2 separate regions of the Homo sapiens genome follow, and region 1 is linked to region 2. The links are contacts of gene promoters, found by promoter capture Hi-C in blood cells and fetal thymus (Javierre and others, 2016). All regions are on one chromosome and are shown on one strand. The core of a region is centred on a gene start or on the middle of the fragment in contact, and the rest is flanking DNA. Distances in the headings are between cores, read along the strand shown.

Region 1 (3,289 bases), core at 611-3,110, 310 kb after region 2:
TTACTAGATTTTACATAGACATGAGGTTAGCTACCTATCATCAGATTATAAAAGGGGGCAGGAAGAAGACTTAGAGAAGAACATGTCTTTATAATAAAAGACAAAGTATTGATGGGTGACAGCAATGGTCTTAAAGGGAAAAGATGAGAATCCATCCTCAAGGAATCCAACCTCAAGGCTACCAATAAACTGATAGGACACTTAACCATCTATTCAACATTTAATGAATGCCAATTTTTGGGTCTGACACTATACAGATAATATATTCAGGGAACACAGATTCCATAAAACTAAGATTTTTTAAATGCTCATTCATCGTTTCTCTCAGAGAATTTTGACTACTGAGATGGATTACAAGATACTTTTAAAATATTTTACTTTCCAATCTATAACACAAAACTGGGGAACATTCTGGTACCAAGCATGCTACAATGGTATTTGAGTTGAAAACCTTAAATTTTAAAATATTTTTCATATTTCAGTCACGATTCTCACAGAACAACTGCAAATTATAAGAAAACAAATGAGACGTCAGCATTTATGTGGTTAGGAAAATGAAACTGAGTCAAGACAAGAAAGCACTAGATAATATAAGCAGAAAGAAAAATAGAAGGGAAACTAGGAAAATAAGAATAAATTGTTCCTGCTCTAGTCTACTTTATTCAAGATAATATTTGATTCCTAGAAAGTAAATAGTTTTATGCACAATAAGCTTCACCATTAAAGTAATGAATAAAATGTCATGATTCCTGACTTACATAACAAACATGTCCTAAAATGTTATCAGTGGAATTTTAGGACATCTTTATTTGTATTAATGTATTTTTAAAAGTCAAACTCTCGGTTTCACGTTGCATTCAAAGGGGAAAAAAGCCCAGTATATTTGACTGAATCACTAAAATAAAAAGCTTTTATTTCTACAGATAGCCAGGTAAGCTGAACCTGAAATGAGGACTATTAAAACACCGAATAGAGTTTACCAAAAAAAGGGTACATTGTAAAAATAAAACAATAAAAAGATACATTGTAAAAATAATAAAAAGGGTACACCGTAAAAATAAAACAATGAAAAGGATACATCGTAAAAATAAAATAAAAAGGACACATTGTAAAAATGAAAGGATATATTATAAAAAATATAAGTTTTGTAAACTCTATTCATAACATCTACCTAGAAACTCATCCAACCTAGCCAGGAGCCTGAATTTATTAACATGCTGAAATTATTATATTTTGGATATGTTGGGACAAATTAAAGAGTATTATTGAAATTAATTTTATTGCTTTTTACTTTTATATTGTGACTACTACAAAATCTTAAACTACATTTTCTGGCTCACATTGTATTTCTACTGGACAATGCTGGTCCTAGAAAACTTAAGTCCAAAATACATAGAATGCTTATACACAAACTAAATGACCTCTTCAAGTTACTTCTATCAGACCCACAGTTTAGTGGTTCTCTGTATTATACCAACACTTTACATAGTAACATCCAGTTAAATGGCACCAGAAAAGCTCACATCCTTATAGAATCACATCCAAGTCCACACCAAAAGCTAATGACAGCTTAGTTTCATTGTCGTAGCTAAGATATCAAATATAAATCTGAAATTTCTTCCCCGTTTTTTAAAACAAGATCTTGACTTTAAAAATCAGTCTTGGCCGGGCGCGGTGGCTCACGCCTGTAATCCCAGCACTTTGGGAGGCCGAGGCAGGCGGATCACAAGGTCAGGAGATGGAGACCATCCTGGCTAACACAGTGAAACCCCGTCTCTACGAAAAATACAAAAAATTAGCCAGGCGTGGTGGTGGGCGCCTGTAGTCCCAGCTACTCGGGAGGCTGAGGCAGGAGAATGGTGTGAACCCGGGAGGCGGAGCTTGCAGTGAGCCGAGATCGTGCCACTGCACTCCAGCCTGGGCAACAGAGCGAGACTCTGTCTCAAAAAAAAAAAAAAAGTCAGTCTCCTAGGAAAATACTGACTGTCAGAAGTGGGTTTCAAACTGATTAGTGACAATATTTCAGTCAAGATATCGCTCAAAGCCCCCCCAGCCCCCCCAAAAACAACAGGGACAGCCTCAAGTTTTGAAAGTCAGCCCATTAGCAGACTCATTCCAATAAACAAAATTCTAAGGCAGATATCAACCTATTCTTGCCTGTATAATCAATATAAACAATGCCTCAGACTAACTCATTTCTGTCTTTGTAGCCACCTCAACCTAAAACAAACTCTTCCCAAGAACCCCAACTAAGATCAGCAAATCGCTTTGTTCAAATAAGACTGTGCCTGATCAGCACACAACTTTTCCTTACTTACACAGACAATAAATACAGCTTTTTTGTTGTTGTTTTCATTTTTAGACAGTCTCACTCTGTCACCCAGGCCAGGCGCTTCGGCATCCCAAAGAGCTAGGATTACAGGTGTGAGCCACTGCACCTGGCCAGCTTTGGCTTTTATTTCAGATTCTGGGTGGTAGTCTCAGGCTGGGCAGTTTTTAGTACGTTCTTTCCAACTTGATCCAAACTTTTTGTCCCCCACCTTGTTTGTACATTTTAGCATTGCTCAAGAAATTTTAGATACATATTTTCTCAGAATTACTGTATCTGTTTATCTTACTCTATTCTACCCCTGACCTATGTATGCAGGCCACCTACCTCTATTTTATTTTCTGAGAAGTAATTTTACTTTGCATTGTCTCTGCGGGTAATGGGGTTTGTCATTAAAATGGAGATTCATGGTTGACTATATAGATTTCTAAAACTATAAAGCTGAAATGTAAGCCAATTACGTATACGAGGAAAAGTTATTGCTTAAGCTTTTCCCTGTAGCATTACAGTTGAAAAATAGTACTAACTTCCTGGAAACTTTAGTTCATTCTGGATAATGTTTCAGTTTTTCTTAGGAATTTCAAATTGCCCAAATAGAGAAAAATAAAGCTTACACCCAAAACTAAATACATTAAAAAGCAACCATAATAAAGATGAACAAATAGTATGTTACCTGCTAATGTAGCTGCTGCAGCCAATCCTGCTGCAGTATACGGATCGGTCCCTGGAGGAGCAGCACTAATAATGTATGGATTTGGCACAAATGCAGCTGGAGCAAGGCCTGCTGAGAATACACCAGCTATATTTTAAAAGGGGAGAAATAATAAACAACAATGTAAAGTATGATTTTTTTCATTAGATAAAAACATTTCTACTCTGAATCTGGGGTGGTGTGGGGGTGGGGAGCAGAGTGTGCATAATGGTTCAAATTTTTACTAAGTGACCTTGGGCATGTACCGC
Region 2 (3,295 bases), core at 124-2,623:
GTAAAACGTATCCCATTTTCTGTTCTTGGACACTAGGTGAATAACCATTAATGCATCTGATAAGCAGAAAGGATGACACAGACCTGTAAACAATCTGCCAGATTTTCTTAGTGAAATGTTGACTCACAGGATTTCTTTTAGACTCCTAATAATATAGTACAATAATTAGACATAGCATAACACAGTGACTTATTTTCATTCTTCATTATTTTTCATTTTCCATTAATAACTCAGCAAAAACCATCCGATGTTTACATTCAACATTCTCTGAACTTTATTGCAAATATACTCCAGAAAAACACCATAAAATGTTTTGGTAGTTTTCCCTTTAAAATAATCAGAACTGCATATTGACAGATAACATGAGTAGACCGCACTGAACAAATAACATTAGCCAATTTACTACCAAACATGTGGGCTTGCATTCATTTACCTGTCTGCGTCTCTAATTTCAAAACTTTCAGTAATCCATCTTCACCACCGCATGCTATGAACCCTTGTTCCTTGTTCCAGGATACACACTGCAGCTTCACGTTATTGGGAATGGAAATCTGAAAAAGCAACCACAGCCGCACTAGCAACTTTTCACGAAGGAGCTGGGAAGTAAGTCTGCAGGAGATGAAAGCTGAAGAAAATCTTCCAAGAAGAAAAACGAACGGCCTTGCAGAAAAAAAATGAGCTGTTGTGAAAATGGGCATGGTCCCCTGAACTGACCCGGGCTCTAGCATTTGGGAAAGAGGGAAAGAAGTGCACAAAAGAGAAGGATAGTGACTGCGGAGGAAGCCAACGCCAGAGTCTCACCGGATGGATTTTTTAAAGGGAGGACGGGGAGAGGGTATAAATCCATACCACCAGTCCCTCTTCCTTTTTACCTACAACTTAGGCTATCCTATTGTTATTTCTTTTCTCTTGCCCAATGGCTCGTGGTGATCCAAAGAGTTTAAATCACGTGGATCAGCAACAAGTGGAGGAGGAAACATAGGGTAGCACGTGGCGACTTATCCTCAAGCCACCCAAAAGGACCTAGCCAGGGGCAGGAATGGGAGAGTGCTGCGAGAGGGCAGCAAGCTCGGCCAAAGACTGAGGCTCTGGGAACCGCAGGAAGAGGTCGGAGGCTGGACCCGGCGGGAAGGATGGCTGCGGAATGGCGAAGCCACGACCAGGACCGGGTGAAGGAGCCTGGCTTCTCGGGAAGGCAGCGGGAATCGCCGCAGGCTGCGGGAATGGCGGAGAAACGAGGACGCCCCCCAGGAAACTCACTTTCTTGCTCAGGTAGAAGAACATCGTGGGATCCCCGAGAGGGTCACGGCGGCCGCTAAGGCCCTCGACAAGTAACGGTTCTACGTCTCCAATCGGGAGTACCAGCAGCTCCGGAAAGCTCCCGTCGCCCTGGCAACCGCTGTTGCCCGGTCGCATCCGGGGCGCCGCGGGACACTTCCGGTGACGCCCTCGCACCGGGCACCGGCGTAGTGCGCCTGCGCGGACGTCGATGGGTTTGTGGGCGCAGGGCGCGAGGCGCGAGGCGGTAGCTGGGCTAGTCCTGTTCCCTGGCGTCTGGGCCTTTCTGCTCTCCGCAAGGAGCTGGGTCGCGACCTGTCACTGCCAGCCGTGCGCTCGCCCTCTGCGCCCCGTCTCGTGGTCACTGCCGCCCTCCCTCCCGCCACACCTGTGATGATCGCTATGGAGCCGCGCCTCAGGTGGCATTACTATAAACCTAAGAGGAGAGGCGCCCGTTCGAATAAGGGCAAATTATTTAGTATTTTGTAAGTTCCAAAGTTCCAACATTCTTGAAAGGGAAAAGCCATTTACTGTATTTGATAGGCTGGCGCCACTGGCCAGATGAAAGTGCAAATGTGCGTACTGAGATCTTACAACCCTTCTCTGTGTCTTTGGGGATTGGAGAACCTCTAGAGCAATTTAGGAATAGAAGATTTTGTTTATTCCGCTTGTTTTGATATTTTTTAACAGTTTAATTATTACCGCAACCCCGAGGGTCCTTTTAAAGGAATTTCTGTAAACGTTGGGTAATTACAGCGTACAATTGCTATTGGGGCATGGCCTCCCATTTTACAAATATTTGAGCGTTTGGTGTTTTCTCGTCTAGAGTCGACTGTTACATATTCTCTTCTTTTTCTTACCTTCTTTCTTCATTCTCCTTTGTCCTTTTGGAATGCTTGAGAGTTACAAAGCCTCAAAGTCTAAGGCATAGGGCAGAAATCCAAGTAGAACCACTCATGAAATTATTTGGTCTCACCTATGTTTTTATTTCTGGTTTTCCCTTTTACCATAATCTAGCATGTAATTTATGCATCAGTAGTTAATTTCCCCACTTGGAGTCTTTTCCCATCTCAGACAAAAATAAAATAAAAATCCTCCAATCCTTTGACCTGGGTGATTTGTCTCACCCAGCACAATCTATTATAGAATTGACAATAGTCCCTAGTGCCTTTCCTAGCAAATCTAAACTCCATCCAAAATCAGATCTTCCCTCAATCCTAAATGTTTTTACTAGGGAGCCCCCACCTCAAGTAAGCCAATATGCTTTCTGCAGGGCAACATTCCATCCGGCTCTGCTTCCCAAGCCACTTTATATATGGTCCTACCCTCTTAACAGGCCAGTTGTGCCTAGCCAAACCAGCACAAATCAGTCTCCATGAGGAATTCTTTCCAAACTTAACCCAATCCCATTCAGATAATGTTTGCTTTCCATTGTTTGTGTGTCTGTTTAAGATACATTGGCCCCTGTCCATAGGCTCCCTATACTGGACGCATGAGACAAATTAGTATTATCTAACCCAGGAGTTTCCAATAAACTGGTCAAGACATAATTAGTTGAAGCTAGTTACTGATGGTGACACCTGAAAACTCACCTCTCTTTATCTTTCCCTTCTTGCACATGAACTCTCATTTATTCCTTCTATACCACCATTTCTCTGTGGTATATTAATATGTATTACTGATTTTGGGCTCAAAAAAGTCTGGAAAATACTACTGTAGCTCTATGTCATACCCTTTCAAAATTTTTGAAAAGTAAGAGATGCTTTATATATTTCCTTGGTATATTTAGTTTTTGTTCCTTCCTTAAAGTTTATATTTTATATTTACATCTGTAGGATATATTTGCTTCTCAGGAGCTTATATTAATGTAAAGCTCATCATTATTTTATCCAAATTTAGATAATTTTATATTGAAGCCTTTCTTTTGAACCTGAACTTACACTTTTAGCCTCAGGAGTGTGAGATTAAACTATAGGAGGAGAATCAAACTTCTGTCTTTTGATAAGAAACTGTTGAA

What was found. Contacts are between HindIII fragments. The CHiCAGO score rates a contact against its expected background, and 5 or more counts as called.
Region 1: a contact is called between a fragment that was not itself captured here and the fragment with the promoter of WDR35 in region 2, in 1 of 17 cell types (M2 macrophages). The highest score is 5.2, in M2 macrophages.

Annotation. Positions count from the first base shown.
Region 1 is chr2:20,294,551-20,297,839 of GRCh38, forward strand. It overlaps PUM2 (pumilio RNA binding family member 2), which reads right to left. Exons shown (of 21, transcript NM_015317.5): 8 at 3,003-3,128. Among named protein-coding and RNA genes, the nearest start is that of PUM2, 55 kb to the right of the region's middle. The HindIII fragment of the contact is 1,909 bases long and covers 907-2,815 here.
Region 2 is chr2:19,988,732-19,992,026 of GRCh38, forward strand. It overlaps WDR35 (WD repeat domain 35), which reads right to left and starts at 1,374. Exons shown (of 27, transcript NM_020779.4): 1 at 1,261-1,374; 2 at 434-551. The coding sequence starts at 1,284. It overlaps WDR35-DT (WDR35 divergent transcript), which reads left to right and starts at 1,473. Exons shown (of 3, transcript NR_110235.1): 1 at 1,473-1,763. RefSeq lists enhancers at 1,105-1,154, 1,171-1,674, 1,305-1,354 and a silencer at 1,515-1,594. The HindIII fragment of the contact is 12,234 bases long and covers 1-3,295 here.